Regions from separate parts of the Homo sapiens genome. Here all the other regions are linked to region 5. The links are contacts of gene promoters, found by promoter capture Hi-C in blood cells and fetal thymus (Javierre and others, 2016). All regions are on one chromosome and are shown on one strand. The core of a region is centred on a gene start or on the middle of the fragment in contact, and the rest is flanking DNA. Distances in the headings are between cores, read along the strand shown.

What was found. The method cuts DNA at HindIII sites, captures the fragments that hold promoters and counts their contacts. A CHiCAGO score of 5 or more calls a contact.
Region 1: a fragment that was not itself captured here is called in contact with the fragment with the promoter of CR2 in region 5 in 3 of 17 cell types (naive CD4 T cells, naive CD8 T cells and total CD4 T cells); the score reaches 7.5 in naive CD4 T cells.
Region 2: a fragment that was not itself captured here is called in contact with the fragment with the promoter of CR2 in region 5 in 3 of 17 cell types (endothelial precursors, total CD8 T cells and total B cells); the score reaches 5.7 in endothelial precursors.
Region 3: a contact is called between a fragment that was not itself captured here and the fragment with the promoter of CR2 in region 5, in 8 of 17 cell types (naive CD8 T cells, naive CD4 T cells, total B cells and 5 more). The highest score is 14.2, in naive CD8 T cells.
Region 4: a fragment that was not itself captured here is called in contact with the fragment with the promoter of CR2 in region 5 in 5 of 17 cell types (monocytes, M0 macrophages, endothelial precursors and 2 more); the score reaches 8.1 in monocytes.
Region 6: a fragment that was not itself captured here is called in contact with the fragment with the promoter of CR2 in region 5 in 2 of 17 cell types (total CD4 T cells and neutrophils); the score reaches 5.7 in total CD4 T cells.
Region 7: a fragment that was not itself captured here is called in contact with the fragment with the promoter of CR2 in region 5 in 1 of 17 cell types (naive B cells); the score reaches 6.0 in naive B cells.

The regions. Positions count from the first base shown.
Region 1 is chr1:207,065,554-207,068,253 of GRCh38, forward strand. PFKFB2 (6-phosphofructo-2-kinase/fructose-2,6-biphosphatase 2) reads left to right here. Exons shown (of 15, transcript NM_006212.2): 9 at 1,946-2,153; 10 at 2,610-2,700. Among named protein-coding and RNA genes, the nearest start is that of PFKFB2, 14 kb to the left of the region's middle. RefSeq lists a silencer at 1,971-2,202. The HindIII fragment of the contact is 7,385 bases long and covers 1-2,700 here.
Region 2 is chr1:207,156,867-207,159,566 of GRCh38, forward strand. All of the region lies in intron 1 of LOC107985251 (a long non-coding RNA gene), which reads right to left. Among named protein-coding and RNA genes, the nearest start is that of C4BPA, 54 kb to the left of the region's middle. The HindIII fragment of the contact is 1,386 bases long and covers 671-2,056 here.
Region 3 is chr1:207,048,756-207,051,455 of GRCh38, forward strand. YOD1 (YOD1 deubiquitinase) reads right to left here and starts at 2,453. Exons shown (of 2, transcript NM_018566.4): 1 at 1,933-2,453; 2 at 1-968. The coding sequence starts at 2,275. The coding sequence ends at 265. It also overlaps a transcript of PFKFB2 not described here. RefSeq lists an enhancer at 2,017-2,587. The HindIII fragment of the contact is 159 bases long and covers 1,221-1,379 here.
Region 4 is chr1:207,015,368-207,018,067 of GRCh38, forward strand. No RefSeq gene overlaps it. Among named protein-coding and RNA genes, the nearest start is that of C1orf116, 16 kb to the right of the region's middle. The HindIII fragment of the contact is 3,148 bases long and covers 1-2,700 here.
Region 5 is chr1:207,453,034-207,455,733 of GRCh38, forward strand. It overlaps CR2 (complement C3d receptor 2), which reads left to right and starts at 1,295. Exons shown (of 20, transcript NM_001006658.3): 1 at 1,295-1,443. The coding sequence starts at 1,386. RefSeq lists silencers at 1,134-1,363, 1,744-1,853. The HindIII fragment of the contact is 5,194 bases long and covers 44-2,700 here.
Region 6 is chr1:207,120,445-207,123,144 of GRCh38, forward strand. All of the region lies in intron 4 of C4BPA (complement component 4 binding protein alpha), which reads left to right. Among named protein-coding and RNA genes, the nearest start is that of C4BPA, 18 kb to the left of the region's middle. The HindIII fragment of the contact is 3,337 bases long and covers 1-2,700 here.
Region 7 is chr1:207,173,838-207,176,537 of GRCh38, forward strand. All of the region lies in intron 1 of LOC107985251 (a long non-coding RNA gene), which reads right to left. It also overlaps the pseudogene C4BPAP1. Among named protein-coding and RNA genes, the nearest start is that of LINC02942, 65 kb to the right of the region's middle. The HindIII fragment of the contact is 4,272 bases long and covers 1-2,700 here.

The DNA of each region.
Region 1 (2,700 bases), core at 102-2,601, 390 kb before region 5:
GTTGGCCAGGCTGGTCTTGAACTCCTGAGCTCAAGTAATCCACCCGCCTCGGCCTCCCAAAGTGCTGGGATTACAGGTATGAGTCACTGCGCCTGGCTGGAAGTGTTTTTTATCATCAATTTTTTCTCTCCAGTCTCTAGAGCATGATTTCCTCAATCTCAGTATTATTGGCACTTTGAACTGGGTAATTCTTTGTTGTAGGACCTGTCCTGTGCATTGTAGGATGTTCAGCAGCTTCCCTGGGCTTTGCCCACTAGATGCCAGTAACACCTCCAACCTGTGACAACCAAAATGTCTCCAGACATGTCAGAGGTTCCCCGGGGGGCACAGTTATCCCTGGTTGAGAATCACTGCTCCATATCTGAATGGGGGTGTTGTAGGATACCCTTTGGAGATGTGTCATCAGTTTTTAAAGTTTATATATATTATATGATATTTTACATATATTAATGCTTGTGTGTATATCATGCATATTATAGCATAACATATATATTACATATTGCATATTTTTATATCTATCTCTCTCTATATATAACATGCAAAGCCCTCAAGAACATGCCTGACTCAGAGAAATGTCTGATCAATGCCAGCTGTTGTTACTATGGAAGCATTTGTTGGCAGTATGGTGTAGACTATAGATTAACTTGTCATGTGTGAGGTATATGAGCCATAACAAAACCAAGTCTATGTTGAAGAAAGATGGTGTACACATGGAAATCTGCAAGAATGTGGCCTCATGAAAGAGCATGCATTCAGGGCAGTTAACAGCTCTATTCACATAATACAGACCTGCAGCCAAGCAAATGGCACATTTAATGTGCATGGCACACTTAATACAGTGGTCTGTTTAATGTTTTGAGCCTTTCAGTTCCTTCAAGTGGGTTTCCCAGAATCCCCTTAATTCAGAGGCTGAAAACCACCTCTAGATATGGCATAAAAGTATTCTTCAGTTGGAACAAAGTCCCACCTAGAAAAACATACAGAAGATCTACATATATATACATGTGTATGTTTGTATATGTTATCTCTGGTAGTAGGGTGATGCGTGATTTGCATCCTTCCATCATTTTTTCTGATTTTTTGATTTAAAATAAGCACTTATGACTTTTTTTTTGAGATGGAGTCTCTCGCTCTTGTTGCCCAGGCTGGAGTGCAGTGGCACGATCTCGGCTCACTGCAACCTCCCCCTTCCTGGGTTCAAGCAATTCTCCTGCCTCAGCCTCCTGAGTAGCTGGGATTACAGGCACCCGCCACCACGCCCGGCTAATTTTTTTATTTTTAGTAGAGATGGGGATTCACCATGTTGGCCAGGCTGTTCTCAAACTCCTGATCTCCTGATCTACCCACCTTGGCCTCCCAAAGTGCTAGGATTACAGGCATGAGCTACCGCATCCAGCCACACTTATGACTTTTATAAAGAGAACAATCTCATGTTGGCCTCAAAGCAAGCAATGTCTGAAAGTGTCTTTGAGAGAAGCATGATTAGGTAGATGCAGGGAGTATATAGACATTTCTGTCTGTGCTTCTGCTGCCTCTTCCCTTCCCCTCGTTGCTCGTCGTGCCATATTCTGGCCAGGTCTTAACTGCCTCAAAAGGGGCCTATTCTTCTCACCAAATTTTGGGCTTAGCAAAATCTTCAGGTCACCTAGTCTAGCCCCTGATGGGAAGGCTGAATTCTGTTTATCCTATTTATCTACATTACTTGTCACACTACAGGCACTGAGGAAATGGTACAAACTTACTAGAAGTTCAGGAAATTGTACTTCATCTTGGTTTTAAGGAGTAATTAATCTCCTACCATTTGGTTCCATAAACGTGGGTGTGACAGAGGAGGGGAGGAAGAGCAGCTGTGAGCCTGCAAGTCCCTGTAGAAATCCTTTTCCCTCTGATTCTTATTCTCAGATCTTCTTACCTAGGGAATTTTTTTTTTCCTTTCCTGTCCCAGGGATCTTTCTTTCATCAAGGTGATAAACGTGGGCCAGCGATTTTTAGTCAACAGAGTCCAGGACTACATCCAGAGCAAGATAGTCTACTACCTCATGAATATCCACGTCCAGCCTCGCACCATTTACCTTTGCCGGCATGGAGAAAGCGAGTTCAATCTCTTGGGGAAGATTGGGGGTGACTCTGGCCTCTCGGTGCGGGGAAAGCAGGTGAGTAATTATTCAGCACACTGGATTTTCTAGGCTTAGAGTTAGAAGGGCATGACTGAGGTCATATATTTTATCTCCTTACTTAAATCCCATTTGGACGTAGGCTGTGGTTTCATAGTCAGGCAAGTGCTCAAGGTGTGTTCTTGCTCACTGCGTCTAGCTCTGTGTTAAAGAGTAGATAACTTTGACCCATTTCTGCTGTGATCATTCAACCATCAGATATTCATTGGGCACAACTTGTGTACTTAGCAATGTACAGGGTGCTCCAGTTAAAGTTCATTTCCTTTTGGGTTTATATTAACTATGTAGCACCTTATGGATTTTGACCATGGTTATGCACGTTGTCCCTTACAGACCAAGTTAGCAGGCTTTGTGTATGTGTGTGTTGAGTGTGTGTGTGTGTGTGTGTGTCTGTGTGTTTTCTTTTTACCCTTAATTTTCATTTTTAAACCCCAGTTTGCCCAAGCTCTAAGGAAATTTCTGGAGGAACAGGAAATAACAGACCTCAAAGTGTGGACAAGCCAGTTGAAGAGGACCATACAGACTG
Region 2 (2,700 bases), core at 114-2,613, 300 kb before region 5:
TCCCTAAAAGACACAGCAGTTGCGTTTGTCTCCTTGCTTTAAGTTAAATGTTTTTCTTTACACTATGACTAACTAGTTCATATATTTCCTTCAGAAGTTCACCCACAGTGGTGCTGAATAATTACACCAGGAGTAAAAAATGTATAGGTTATTTGGAATGTGAATCTGGTGCTAAAGTTTAGTTGAGCCTGAGAAAAGTCAACTACGAAACCCCTGCTGCCAAATATTCTTCTTTGACCACAAGAAAATAAATTAAAACGAAGTGAATTCTTTCTATGTCAGGTTTAATAATTGTGGGGAGAAAGCAATTGGAAAGCTAGAGGCTCGGCTCTGCCCTAAAAAAGTTATAACTAAAGAGAGACTATTTTGATTCCATTACCATTTTATATTTATGGGCACTATAAAAGGGGGATGCTATTTTCTAATATTTCTCTGAATTTAGGAATTACCCTTCCTAGTGCTGTTTCTGCCAATTTTAACCAATAAGTGACCTTCTGATACCAAGTCTATTTGCATATTTAGGGATATAGTGAATTCTCCTTTATTTAAAAAATAATACTCTTTATTCAAAATGTAAATACATTGAATAGATTATGTAATTAAAAATTATTTCCATAAAATTATTTTCCCTCAGAAACTTTATATGCCATCTATCTCAATACCAAGTAGAAGCTTACTACAAGTTTTAGATTATCCCAAAATGTCTGAGTCTCAGCCTGGGTCCAATCAGGAGACAGAAACCATACAATGATTTAAATAGAGGAAATTTAATATACAGAATTACTAAACTCTGATAAAAAAGTAATTATAAAATTTAAGAAAACTCTGTATGGTATTCTAGGGCTGAGGCAAGGTACTCAAGGGAGACAAACTGCAATGAGGTGCCCCTTCCCAAGGCTGGGGTTTAGACTTCATTAAAAAAGGTATAGTAGCAATCCACTGGATGCCAGAGAAGTTCACTAGTTGCCTGGACAAGAGCTGGTCTGTGGTCATTGGGCAAGTAGAAACCAAATATCCAGAATAGAGGCAGAATATAGGTGAGCTCCAGCTGGTGGCTACATGCATAAGCCTGCAGATAGGGTTGGGGGTCACTGGAACATGAGCTATCTGTGAGGGGAACCACAGATAGTGGCCAGATGGGCAGGTGTGCAGAAAAGTGACCCCAGTAGCAAGTCTTCAAGGCAGAGAAAGCACATAGGCAAGTAGGTGGCCAGGTGTGAGGGCATGAAGAGGGAGTAGGGGTGCTGTTGTGGCAAGAGTCTTGGAGAAGTATCCGTCAGAAGAACCACGGGGAGGTGATAGCCAGCCTGGTCCACGACTGCAAGATTGCCAGGGGATAGTGCATTCTGGGAAGAGGGCCTGGGGCAGACCACCCCCATATATCTTACTAACCCATCATGTAGCAGCAGGAAACAGCAGGAGAATCCTTGCTTCCTGCAATGTCCCTCAAGCATCCTCTAATGAGAATATTAAACATCATTCTCACTGTAAAGGATTAATACTTAAGGGAATTTCATCCATTATCACAGAGCTGTAATAAACGGTTAGTTTGGATGTGAGAGGAAATGCACTGATAACTGGCACGGCACGTATAACTTAATGATGCTAAAATAAAAATGCAAAGTCAAAATACTCAAGGATTGCTTACAGCGAGACTTATGGAAGAGGAAGTACAGGAAGAGTAGCAGCAAATTCACTAAAATTTAGACTTATAAGCAATTTTGTTGAGTTTATTTTCAGTCAAGGAAAAATGATTATATATTTCCTACTAGTTGATAAAAAGAAACAGTTCTGAAAGAGGAGCTTATTTTCACTAATTAAAATAGAAAAACTTAAAATAGAAAATTAAAATTTATCCCATGGGCCATTTAATAAGAAACAGTGAATAACATAATTAGGACAATGCCAATAACATGGACAATAGCAAAGTTGTTTTTCAAATAGCCAAATATACCAGCCTTTAATAAGAACTGAGTTGATCTATTAAAACATAAATTAAGACTGATGCTTTTACAAGAAGTTAAGCAAGCTACTGATATCCAGGTACAGCTACTAAAGCTTTGTTTTGAATCAAAGATAGACCCTGGAATACATAGAAAAATGAATGGATTTCGTCTCTGTTAGACTAGTGATTCCTGCATTTGCTGAACATGAGAATAACTTCAGGCATTTTAAAAATAATTCAGGCATTGAAGCCTCATCAGATATATTTGATTAGGGGATTGGGAATCTGCATTTTAGCAAACACAGATATTTTGGGGGAGCTGCCTCACTCAAGGTGGCAGTCTTTCTCTGGGACACCCACATTTATTGATTGGTTGGTGCAGTGGTACAAAAGCCCAGCTTTACTTAATCCTGGACACCTTTGAAGGGCCAGTCCAACTTTAAGGATGCTCTGAAGTCTCTGATGCAACTGCTTCAAAGTTTTGCTTTTCTGTCTTCCTTCTCATTCTTCCTTTACAGACAATGTTCCTGTAAGAACGCCTCAATAAACCACTCTGCATGCACATTTATATTTCTTCTGTTTTGATTTACTTGTTTGTGTTGTTTCCTCATGTGTTTGACAATTTTATTTTTAAATGATTTGTAAAGAAGGCTTTTATATTTAAGACATGAAATTTTAATTGTTATATCTGCTTTAATTATTTAATTGAATTTTTTTTTTTGAGATAGGGTCTCGCTCTGTCATCCAGGCTGGAG
Region 3 (2,700 bases), core at 50-2,549, 400 kb before region 5:
GTCAGTAGGTGGCAAGGATCACCTATTCTGTCACTCCAGCAGAAAGAGGCATGTATGTACAGTTTACCACTGTAGACACACATCTGTAAACTTGCACACTAATTTTAATCTTAACAAGGAATTTCAGTGTCTTAGTGGTTTTAAGTTAAAAGGATGGTTCAAGCATTGTATCCTTTGTTCTTTAGGGTTACCATAGCTTATTGGAAAACCCAGAGCCTTCTGGATGTGTGAGGTAGTAGGCTTCAACCCTCATTCATGCATAGGTCACACTTCTCCAAAGTTGGTATGGCCTGTCTCCTTGGCATGTTCCCTTGCTTCTGCTTGTCCAGTTAATCCTTTCTGACATACCATGCATCTCAGGGTGAAGCGGTTGACATCAGTAAACTGTCTCCTTCTTCTAGCTTCATCTGCTAATTCCAGTGCTTGTACAAGAACAATATCATCATTAGAGGAGAAAATGGTCAGAGGAGGTGTATCTGGATCAGGGAAGTTACGCTGAAGTGGATCATAGTGGATGCCATCATAAATAAGCAGAACCCTTTTGGTATATCCTGCATCTTCCCCAAAACGATCAATTCTTACTGTCTGTGTATCCACTACACATATTTCACATTGGTAAAACTTGGACAAAATCGATATCTCTATTGCTCCTCCCCAAGTGTCATCCCTTTTGATCCAGTCACAGTACTCTTGATTTGTTTTTCCCAGTATTGCCTCACTATAGAAGTCTGGATCGCTTGCTACAATTTGTGCTATGAGGCGTCTCATCTCAGGGGCACAAGCTGGATTCAAGACTCCTCCTTCGACGACATAGTACACACTAGTAAAGAGGCAAGAGTTGTCTGCTGGGACCACGGTTCTGGTAAGCACAGGCAAAGTTTCCCTGACGTAACTAGAAGCACCACGTTTAGTAAATGCAGGTGAACTTCTGGGCCTGGTTTGGTCTTCTTCAATGATCAGCATGTCACCTGTTAAAAATAAAACAAATCCCGATCTGCAAAGAAATTACAGAAGAAACCGAGTGTTCTCTAGCCAAGTCTGTAAATTACAAACTGAAGGAGTTAAAGCATAAACTGGGGTTACTAAGGAGAATACAGTTTTGCAAGTAAGTTACCAGTAAGAATCTTTGTTCACTGAATTTTCATAAAGATGAAAAAAGAACAAAAAACACTTGAGGTTGCATCCCAATTTAGTGAAGGGGTCTGGAGTAAACAACTTCAAGCTTACCTAAAAAGATACATTTCAAAAACAAAATTTCCTTTCCTTATACAGTATTTTACAGAAGGTGCTCACTACAGAGTAGGCCGCTAGGGGGTTCTCCTTCTCCGGAAACTTATCTACTCTAGAGTGTTTACAACATCCTTGATACAGCAACTGAAAGCTTTTAATTATAAACACTGATGTTCAAGTTTTGATATGGCACAGAAATAACTGCTGCTGGTTAGAAATTGAAAGAGCTTTCAGTGGGTGTTTTAAAAGCTAACTCGAAAATGAGTATGCCTGTCAAACGAAGTATCTACGAAGGGGACTGCAAAAATGAATCAAGAAAAAAAAAATCCTGCACCCTTGAGATCTCATCGGTGATATAGGGAAAAAGAGACATAAGGACAGAGAAAATAGGCCCTACTTTATATTTTTGTGGACGCCGAGGGAAAACAAAATGGGATAGTTTCAAAGCCGACCAGAAAGCGGAATGGGGAAGGGGGTCTTCAAGGCTTTGGGTTCCCTTTCAACCCTGTGTCAAGACAAGGAGTTGCTAGACACTTGCCCTGGCCCCCGTCAGCATTCTCTGTTCTTTGATCTATCCTCGCCCCTGGCCTCAAAGCCCCCCCGCCGACTCACAGCCACCTTGCCTTGACTGGTGTTTTGTTCTCTCTCACGCCCCTCTCCATCCTCCCGGGACTTTCCCTGGCCCCAGCCCTGATTCCTTACCAGATTGGATGGGCAAGTCTTCCAGAATGGTATCCCCATTGCTGAGATCCAGGCACTCGGGAGGGTATCCGACGAGGATTCGCTGACCGCCGGGGGCGATCCCGGTGATGGCGGCAATTTGGCCCTGGAGTTCCCGCACCCGGGTCCGGCTGGACAGCCCCTGCAAAACATGGGTGCCGTCCTTGGCCTTGCAGCGGAGCCGCCACATCGTGTCGGTCCGGCTGCCCACAGGCCAGGCACCCGCGGGGCCAGCTTTGGTCCCGGCAGCCTGTTGGGAGACGCCGCCGGGGAAACCAGGCGCCGGGTGGACTCCAAAATGGCGACCTTTAGCGGGGCCAAACATCGCGAGAAGTTGCGGGTGGTTGCAGTTATCGCGACGCTTCGGTGCGGCTTCTGCCTTAGTACCTTAGCAAGCGCGAACTCTTTTAAAGTGACAACTGATTTTTCCCCCACCCTCAGAACGAAGATGTAAACCTCCGTATTCCTAAAGGACAACGGGTCTTGCTACCTATAGAGCGAGTGAGGTGCCCTCCGCGTGGGTAGCATATATGCTCAAGAAAAGAGGGCGGGGGAAGGAGTTCCTGAATGAAGGTCTGGAGATTGGAATGTGACCTTGCACTTAGTGAGGTCGGAAATTATTAAATTGGGGCTTCCACACTACACCCAGACTACACCAGGAGAAACAGAATCATAGTTCACAACGCAAACGAATGCCAGGAATGGTCAGTGAGTCAAAGGACCAGTCAAAAACAATCACACTTGTGACTA
Region 4 (2,700 bases), core at 9-2,508, 440 kb before region 5:
ATGCGTCCATAAATATATATCTCATGTACGTCTTGAGCATTCAGCAAAGGCTTCTCAGAAAATCTGAAATTTAATCTGAGACTTAAAGGATGAGAAGGAACTAGCTATGTAAAGATGAGGAGCGGAGAACTCCAGCAGAAGGAACAGCCAAGGTAGAGTCTCAGAGCTGGGACCAGCTTGATGCTTTTAATAAGAGAACATGAAGACAGATCCTTCAGGAGCCCCTGCCTAAAGGACGGGGGCAGGAGAGTCACTCAAAGAGGAGATGACAAATATTTCCTCAGATCCAAGCAACTGAACAGAGCCAGGAACTAATCCAAAGGAGGCCTTCACAGAGTCCTGCCTACCCACTAAAGCAGAGTGTGGCAGGGTTGGTGTGAGCTGGAGGAGGTGTTGATGTTGCAAGTCAACTTGTGCTGTAGCCTCAGTCCTACTTTCAGGCATGAAGGCCCAGGAGGTAGAGAGCGCTGTACTCTCAACATGTCCAAACACAGACCCATGCAGGGGACCCCCAGATCTGAGCCTCTCGCCATGGTCTATGTCTCAGTGAGTGGTATTAGTATCCATCCAATCACGAAGGAATGAAACCAAAACATGACTCATGACCTCACCCTCTTCCTCACCCTCAGTAATAGGTCCACCAAATCATGTCAGTGATGAACATCTTCAAACCTTCTTTCTTTTCTTCTTTCTGCCACCACCACAGCTGCACAGTGCCACACTGCCTCCCTCCCAGACTACAGCAGTAGCTTTCTAACTGTTCCCTTCACACCCATCCCAGCCTGTCTCAGTCCCCTCCCAACCCAGCCACCAGAATGATCTTTCCATCTGTAGAGATGTACAGAGTTTGGCGCAGCAACTCTCTTCACGTAAGAGGAATTTTTTGAAAAGTCTCTGGGGGTTGACGCTTAGATCCTAAGAGCCCTCAAGTGTCGGGTGGAGGTGAGAAGGATTTGCTGGTTGTGCTATAAGTTGGAAAAGAAAAAGAAAGGGTGGAAGGGGAGGTGATGTGAGGCCATGTGGTTGTGATAGGTCCCCCAGCATCCCCCACACTGACCTTCAGTAAAAAACTCAGAAAATAACAAAATGCTTAACGAAACCTGATTTCCCATGGGAATCAGTGAAAGGCCTGGGCTTTGGGTCTAGACCAATAGTGAGCGGAGACAGAGACAGTGGCTTAGGGATGGCAGAGTGTGGATTGGGAAGGAGGCAGGTGTGGGGAGGCTCCGAAGCAGCACACACAGATGCAGATAGGACAGAACTGTAGGAGGCTCTTAAAACTGGAGGAGGGCTTTGACTGTTTCAGTTCTGAGGAATCTAGGTGCAGGCCAAGATTAACCAGTCCTGATGGGGGTCCCAGTTGGCATCTGAATTACACGTCTATATGATAATAATATGAATAGACACCATTTATTCAGCAGTGTGCTATGGTTTTTTTTATATGTAGTATCTCATTTGATTCTATTTTCATAAAAACTGCAAGGGGTAAGTATTATTATTGCCTTACTTTACGAGGTTCCATCCTGTTATAATCTAAGTTCGTTTTCTCTCCATTTTTAAGATAAACAATAACTGTAGGGCGGCATAAAGTTCCCTGAACCACACAACAAAGAAAGTTAAAAGATGCAAAAGGTAATCACCGAAAAGGAAACTGAAGTGCAGAGACCCTGGCAGCCTGGCTCCTGAGCCTATGCTCTTGGCCACTGTATGTTCTCAATCTCTCTTCCCTCCCCTCCTCTTCCCTCCTTTCTTATCTTCTTCCATCTATCCACTCATCCATCCATCCATCCATCAAGCCTCCATCCATCTATCCAACTATATTTCTGACCATATCTCTCTCTATATATACATAGTTGGAGGTAGATATAGATATAGATATAGATATAGATATAGATATAGATATAGCTATCTAAGTTGACATGCCAGAGGCCATGTCAGCTTAGAAGTCCCACAGCAACCTCAAACTCAGTATGCCCCAAACCGAACCTCCCGTCTTCCTGGTCCTACATGTATATATATATACATATATATATATGTGTGTGTGTTTATTTCTGACCATAGATATAGATAGGTAGATAGAAAGAAAGGAAGAAACATATGTATCTCCAACTATAGAGATAATTCCTCTTTAGGTGGGAGGTTGAATTACAGAACCTAAAAGTTTCCTTTCCGTTCTCAAGTTCTCTGAGGTTTAGTTTATTTTAGACTATATTTTGATTATTTTTGGCAGGTGTTTATCTTCCTAACTTGTTTGGATTTACCGAAACATACATTTCAGGGCTAGCATGGATCTAGGAGAAAGACCAAGTCCCTCATGTTGAGAGTGAGAAGAAGTGACCCACTAAATCTCACCTGGTCCAGGCCTCTGCCTGTTTCACATTATTTTGAATTCTGGATACGTGGCAAGTGGTGATAAGGACAACAATCCAACTAGGTAATGAGTAAGAGAGAGTGACAGCCTGGAATTAGAGTGTAATCTGTTTTTACCACATGTGTATGCTAACAGTCAGTGATGATTGTGACAGTGGTCATGACTCCAGCAATTCACAGGTCCCTACACCTGAAGAGATTTAGAGACCTCATCCAATGTACTTCTTGCCTCCTGATAACTAATGCCTGATTCATTCCAGAGATGAACAAATTTAAAAGAACGTGCTATTTAAAATAAAAAAAAGGAATTTTAAAACCTTTTCTAGCTTT
Region 5 (2,700 bases), core at 45-2,544:
CAAGCAGCGAGCCCTATGGCAAAATCCACGTGGTGAAGAATGAAGCTTCCAGCCAAAGGCTGGTAAGTGAGCCATCTTAGATGTGGATTCGCCTATCCCAGTTAACCCTTCAGATGACTGCACCTCCAGCTGGTGTCTTAACTGCAATCTCCTGAGCGATCCCAAGCCAGAACCACCTGACCGACCCACAGAAACTGTGAGATCATAAATGTTTATTCTTGCTTTACACCACTACCTTCAGGGTAATTTGTTATTATAATAGATAACGGACTTAAAAGTCATTCTCCAAAAATAATTGTGGTGTATTCGTCAAAAATGTAAAGGTCATGCAATACCAAAAATGCTGAGGACATTTTTCCAGAATAAAGAACTGGGGGTGGGGGGAAGGCATAATGATCAAACACAATACATGATCCTGAAATGATTCTGGACCAGGAAAAACAAAGGTTGGTTTCTATTGTTGTTATTGTTTTTACCATAACACAGGTTATTGAGATGATTGTCAAAATTTAAATACAGATGGTAGCTTATAGTCTTGTGTCAATGTTAAGTTCTTATTTTTGATCATTGCACTCTAGTTATGGAACAGAAAGTCCTTAGTGAACCATTTAGAATAGGAATAAATGCTAGATGGTTCCAAAGTAATAATTATATAATTATAATTATATAATCACATATATGTACATATATGTCTATAGAGAAAGAATAGAGAATGGTAAAGAAAATACAGCAAAATGTTAACATGCAGAGAATCTGGGTGACAAGTATATGGGAATTCTCTGCAGTACTCTTGAAACTTTTCTGTAGAGATTACTTCAAAATAAAGAACAGAGCAGAAGTGGCTGCTGTTCCTAAATTCCCTAAGTAAACTTACACTGCTTTTTCAAACTGGGAGATGAATCCACTAATAGGTTTTGAAATGAGTTTGGTGGATTTCTAATAAGAATAGGATAGCCTAGCCTAGTCTAGCATAACACAGCATGGCACAGAGGACGAACATTGTAGATTACTAAGGGTGAGTACTAACTTGTGAAAGTTTTGTTTAAGTTCTAGTAAGAGAAACAAGTGAGTGTAGTGGGTTGCGTGGTCAAAAAAGTGGGGAAGCCACCGCAACGAGGGGTGAGTCTGAGCCAAAGAGTGGCTCAGAGCTCCCCGCCCACCTCGTGCCGGGCCGTCCCTCCCGCTTGTCCCACCCTCACCGGCGCCGCGTCAGCCCCCAGGCCGCCTGCAGGTGTGCGCTCAGAACTAGCACGTGTGCCGGACACTATTTAAGGGCCCGCCTCTCCTGGCTCACAGCTGCTTGCTGCTCCAGCCTTGCCCTCCCAGAGCTGCCGGACGCTCGCGGGTCTCGGAACGCATCCCGCCGCGGGGGCTTCGGCCGTGGCATGGGCGCCGCGGGCCTGCTCGGGGTTTTCTTGGCTCTCGTCGCACCGGGGGTCCTCGGTGAGCTGGGAGGGGGAGCACGGAGGTGGGGACGCGTCCCGGGCAGGGAAAGTTTCTGTGCCGCGATGCAAAGCAGGGGGCCAAAAGCGAGACGGTGGGGGCAGTGCTCGACGCGTGTCCGCCTCCCGCTAGCTTTGAGGGACCACTGCAATAAACCGCCTGGTCCTGATTGTCCCCACTGGCCCCTCCGGGAGCTGGGACCTCCAGAATTGGAGGCTGCGCCACAGAGGGGCGCTGTCTGGTCGGCCCGGTGTGGCTGGCGGCGTGCGGGTGCTCGCGGTCTCCTGCCGGGCTCCCCGCCCCCAGGATTCTGCAGGTGCTCATCGCTCTCTGGCCGGCGGTCAGCGCTACCGCTCGCCACGGGAAACCTACCCACTGCATGAGGCACCAGCTAGCCACGTGAGGCTGTTTCTGTACACCCGAACCGCGCTCTTGCCCAGCAAAAGCGGCAGAACCTCGGCTCCCTTCCCTAAATAAGAGTAAGACCTGGTTCCCAAGCATGGGTCTCAGATTTTCTGAACTCTAATGTGATATTGGTAGAGATCCTAAACATTAACCATCCGTAGTTATTTTTGAGACATGGATTAAAACTATTGTTTTCTTCTTGTTATTAACCTACTGTAATGGTGTGGACGTCCGCAAAGGTCTCATTCACCGTTTATTATATCTTTTTTTCCTCCAGATTGGCTTGATTTTAAAGAAAGATTATAATTAAGATTAGCGTCTCTTGGCTACAGGATGGGTCTAAGTTTCTAATTATCTCCACGGTACCGTGCATTCCTAGTTTATAAGACGTTTACTGTGTGCAGACCTCAATAACTGGGTGACTTTTGGCAAGTCATTTAGCTCCCTGATCTTCAGTTTCTTCATCTGTAAAATGAAACTAGTGATTAACTGGCCTTCCACCTCACTGAGCTGCCCTGAGCACAGATGAAACTAAGCAAAGAAAGTTGGATGTTAGTCGTTACTACTAAATATCAGTAATAAGCCTCCTGTACAGACTTGATTTTATGGAGCCAGCATTTAAGCTAACAAGCTGGGTGTCCAATTGTTTCTATGGACATCCAGCTTATTGAGGTGTCTGGAATACAGCACATATTAGTTTATTACAACTTTTTGCTTTCCTGACATTTTACTGTCTCCTGACCCTTAAACCTTTCTCCAGACCATTATCTTCATCTCTTTTCTTTTTCTGCATATTAACTCCCTTTGAACAAATGTATATTCACACTTTTTCTAAGAGCAGAGTACGTCCCT
Region 6 (2,700 bases), core at 193-2,692, 330 kb before region 5:
TAGAAGCATTCTTCCACTGAAGACTTCCAAACTGACTGGGCCAGGTGCAGTGGCTCACGCCTGTAATTCCAACACTTTGAGAGGTTGAGGTGGGAAGATCACCTGAGCCCAGGAGTTCAAGACCAGCCTGAGCAACATAGCGAAACCCATCTCTAAAGAATAAAAAAATTTAAAAAACAGAAAATAAAAGAAATAAAAAGACTTCTAGATTAACCAAGAATGTTACTTATTTTTATGTTTTAAAATTTACAGTTGTTTTATGGCGCATCATGATATACAATCAACTTTCATTAATATTTCAACAGGCACTGGAATGAAGGATTTTCTTTATTAGTAGTATATAGAGTTTGCTATATACACATCAGATTTACTTTCTTTTTTTGAGACAAGTTCTCCCTCTATCACACAGGCTGGAGTGCAGTGGTGCAGTCTTGGCTTACTGTAGCCTGGACTGCCCTGGCTCAAGCAATCCTCTTGCCTCAGCCTTCTGAGTAGCTAGGCCTACAGGCATGTGCCATGATGCCTGGCTAAAGTTCAAACTTTTGTAGAGATGAGGTCTTGTTATGTTGCTCATGCTTGTCTAGAACACCTGGGCTCAATGGATTCTCTTGCCCCGGTCTTCCAAACTGCTGAGATTACAGGCATGAGCCACTGTTCTCAGTCAGATCTACTTTCTTGATAAGTTGTTTTGAATATTTTATTATGCTTGTCTTTATATACCTTAAGCATGAAGATAGGAGTTAAAGTAAATTAATAATTTTATAATTATTTTAACCATTATAAAATAATTTAATGATAATTAGCATATTTTGATTATTTTTCTTGTCTCATATACTTCTGTTTTATTAAAATTGCTGCTACATACATATTTTGCTACATAAAGATTCATAGCTCTTCACTGAAAATCAAAATCTTTAACATATAAAGTACCCATTGTGTGTCATTTAATAATCTTGGTTCTGATGTCCAACTTATGGGATATTAAAATTATTATCTTTGGTTTTCTTTTGAATTTGCTTGGTATAATTTTATGCTGTCTTTTATTTTTAATCTGTCTGAAACACTTTTAGGTTTGTCTCCTGTATATAACAGAGCTGAATTTTCTCCAATTAAAAGCTGTTTTTCTTTCATTAGGAGTTTACATTTATTGATGTGAGTGATACTTATAGACTTGGTTTTATCATATTATTTCATATTTTGTTATATATGTATGTGTATATTTATTTTCTATTAAAAATATATGGTGGTATTTAGGAAGGTTCAAAATTTGTTTCTAGTGGTGACCTATATACATTTAAATTTATATAATATCATTATTCCTCTTTATCTTTAGACAGTTTAAATTGGTTCCTTGTTATAAACAACAATAAACTTATCTTGTATTCTTACCCCTCCTTCACCCCTTCTATCTTCCCTACCAGTAAATTTGTATCATTTGTATTATCTTAGTGTTTATTTTGTATTTAACATTAATGTGAAATATTCATATGTGTCTATGGTTGCTTTCATTCTCAACTTTGCAAATGATCAGGCAATAAGGGAATTTATTTTACCCTCTCTTCCCTGTCTCTATTTTTTCTTAGTTATACTATTTCAGTGCTGTCTGAGCATATAACATTTATATTTCCTTCAGTCACACTTAAAATCACATTTGTTTTTTCTTAGATCTGCATGTACAATGTTTGCTACCATTTTTGTTTATTTTGGCTAAAGTTGCCATTGTCATCTCTTGGTTGGCTGTAGTTTGTCCTATGGTGGTTTCCAAAAAAAAGTCCCAAGTGAAAATTATTCTTTGAGTTCTTGCAGGTTCAGATAATATATCTGAGGCATTGATACCTAGAAGATAATGGGGCTTGATATAGTCCTTGGCTCATCCTTTCTTTTCTTGGATGTCTTATAGGTACTGCTGCACTATCTTTTGCTAGTGAATACTACTGATCTGAAATTTCTTCTCATATGGCTTGATCTTTGTTTGACTATCTAAATTATTATTCTTTATCTTTGAAACCTAATACTTTTACTCTTAGTTGTTTTGGTAGAAATCACTTGGTTTAATTTTTTGCTACTATGTGATGTGCAATTTTAATATGTAGATTGACGTATTGTTTTATTTTAGTAACATTTACTTGAAATATATATATTTTTTGAGTCAAGGTCTCACTCCCTTTGCCCAGGCTGGAGTGCAGTGGCACGATCATAGCTCACTGCAGCCTCAACTTCCTGGGCTCAAGCAATCCTCCCACCTCAGCCTCTCAAGTAGCTGGGACTACAGGAGAGCAGCACCATGCCCAGCTGATTTTTGTATTTTTAATAGAGATGGGGTTTTGTCATATTGGCCAGGCTGGTCTTGAACTCCTGGTCTCAAAGAATTCACCTGCCTCAGCGTCCCAAAGTACTGGTATTACAGGAGTAAGCCACCACACCTGGCCTGAAACAAATTTTTAAAAAGCTATTTTGTTCTACTTGGATTCCTTCTTTAGGTTATCCAATTAAGCCTATGTTGATTCTCTTTTGCTTGTTACCTATATCTATTAGTTTTCTCTTATCTTTTCCGTTTGTTTCATTTTTGTTGATTTTCTCATTTTTATCCTCTGTTTTCCTTATTGTGTATGGCTTCCATAAGGGAAAGTGAAAAGAATCAGAACTAAGATGCTGTTGAAACACTAAGGTGTTCCCATTGAAACAACCAGAAACAATATT
Region 7 (2,700 bases), core at 7-2,506, 280 kb before region 5:
TAAAACTATCCTGACATATAGGTGTGGCATGCTCACAGGCACAAGCCAACTCTACTCCCAATAATCATTTTAAGATAAATTGGTACTTTTCTTGTCAAAAGGAAGATTTTTTTGTTAATAATCTCTTAGCGCTATTGGAAGAATTCCAAATATATAGTCATGAGACCAATGACTTCATAGATATTGTAGACTTATATATTTGCTATAAAAATTTTCCAGGAGACAATAGTAAAGTGTTTCAGTCTAACAAAATCAATGTATTACGAGAATTTTTTGAACAATGGAAGTAAGATTCCTTTAAGACAGTTCTTTTTTATAATTTGCATAGAAATGCTCTATGGGCCAATATTGGTCTTGAGACCTTCATGTTGTAAATACATACAGATCATTTATAACATTAATGATTTATTGCTAGCATTTATTGAGCATTTTCTATGTTATAAACACTGTTCTAAGTGCTTTACATCAATTAACTCATTCAATATTTACAACTATTCCAAGAAGTTGCTATTTTTTATCCAATTTTAATGGTGAGAAAACCGAAAAAGAAAGATTAAGTAACTGGCACAAGCTCACATAGTTAATTGGAGGTGGAAGCCACCACTACATTGTGGTTTATCTAGTCTCTTCTGCTATCACATAAACTTAGGTGCCATTCAAAATGTGTAGTAATGAAATTCAATAAATACACAATTTGACAGACACATATCCTCTCTTTGATTCACACTGACCTTTAGCATATTGTTGAATAGAAAAAAAAAATACAAGATGAAAGGCCCAGCTGCAAAAGTTATATGGGGCTTGGTTTGAGGCCAAAGCATGAAGTTGCAGATGATAGTGTCATGATGTCAAGAAGAATGCCTCTTATTTTAATTCCCCATTAGGCAATGAGATTAGAAAGTCATTCTCATCTTGGAGCAAATTTTTGCTGTGTCTTTCTAGTGATCCTAATTCTTCCCCTGAAGACCAACCATTCTAAAGTGCAGTGATGTGAAAGGAAAACTAAGCTCCTACGGAGTTGACCCAGCACCTAGAAACTGTCCCCTTCCTACACCATGGCATGCTTCTCAGTACAGCCTCTCCAGTGGCACATGCATTTAGTAGACACATGCACTTAATAGACACTAGTCTATTGGGCAGTGGTGCTGCCGAGTCTTTTTCTGGAATTCCCATTTAATCTTTACCATCTCATTTTTTGCTGAATGACTATGTTATATCCCTTTTTTGTGACAGGCTCACGAGTCACTCTGCCATTCCCAGTAACACATTTCTTTCACCCTTGTGCTTTCTTTATGAGTGAATGGTTGCACTGTCCTACCGGACATTTCCTATGCTTCCTGGGAGAGAAATGACTACAACCTAAGTGATCACGAAATATTTGAAATTGGAACTGAGTTGAAATATCTATGCAAACCTGGCTATAGACCTGTTTTAGATGAGCCTCTGACTGTGACTTGTCAGGAAAATTTGACATGGACATCTTCCAATGAGTGTGAGAGTAAGAAGACTTGAACTTTGTTTTGTGTATATATGTGTGTGTATCTTCTTTGATATTGAAAATGTTGAGCACAATCCTTGAAATTTGCTGAGACTTGCTTCACTTCATAGCATATAGTTAATTTTTATAAATGTTCTGTGTGCACTTGAAAAGATGCATATTTTGCAGTTGTTGGGTGCAATGTTACATATACATCAATTAGATCTAATTTTAATGGTTTTGTTCAAATCTATTTCCATATTTATATTTATTTCTTGTCTACTTGTTCTCTCGGTTACTAAAAAAGTTTTGTTTGTCTTTTATCTTTTCAGAGTTTTTGTTTGTTTGCTTGCTTGCTTGTTTTGAGACAGGGTCTTGCTCTGTCACCCAGGCTGGAATGCAGTGGCATGATCTCGGCTGGATGCAGCCTCAACTTCCCGGGCTCGAGCCATCCTCCTGACTCAGTAGCTGGGACTACAAGTATACACCACCACACCTGGCTCATTTTTGTATTCTTTGTAAAGATGGGGTTTTGTCATGTTGTCCAGACTGGTCTCAAACTCCTGGACTCAAGAAATTCACTCACCTCGGCCTCCCAAAGTGCTGGGATTACTGGTGTGAGCCACCACACGTGGCCATCTTTTTAGTTTTTTCAAATCATTTTTTGCTTTGTATATTTTGAGACTACATTGCTAGATGCATACAAATTTAGAATGATATATTTTCCTGATAAATTTCACTTTTTATCATTATAAAATGACTCTATTACTATAACTGTTTTATCTTTAAAATTCTACTTTTACATTAATATAGTTCTGACATCTTTATCTGAGTTAGTGTTTACATGGTTTATCCTCTTTTAGTCTTTTGTTTTTGTACTTTCTGTAATTGTATATTTTAAGTGTATCTTGGAAGCAGGATAGAGTTGGATATTTTAATCCTACTTGACAATTTTCATTATTTAATTAGAGCACTTGTCAGTGTACAGTTAGTGTAATAATTAATATAATTGAATTTATATCTACCATCTATTTGCTATATACGTTTTTTGTTTTACATTCTTTTTTTTCCCTCCTTTTGAATTGATTTTAAATTTTTTTCCATTTTTTTTACCTGGTATTTACTTGGTATTTATTTACTTTTAGCTCTTTTTATGATGTTTATACATAATTTACTACTTTTGCCTCTTCCCAGGCAATGAAAAGCCTTAGAAACCTTTAACT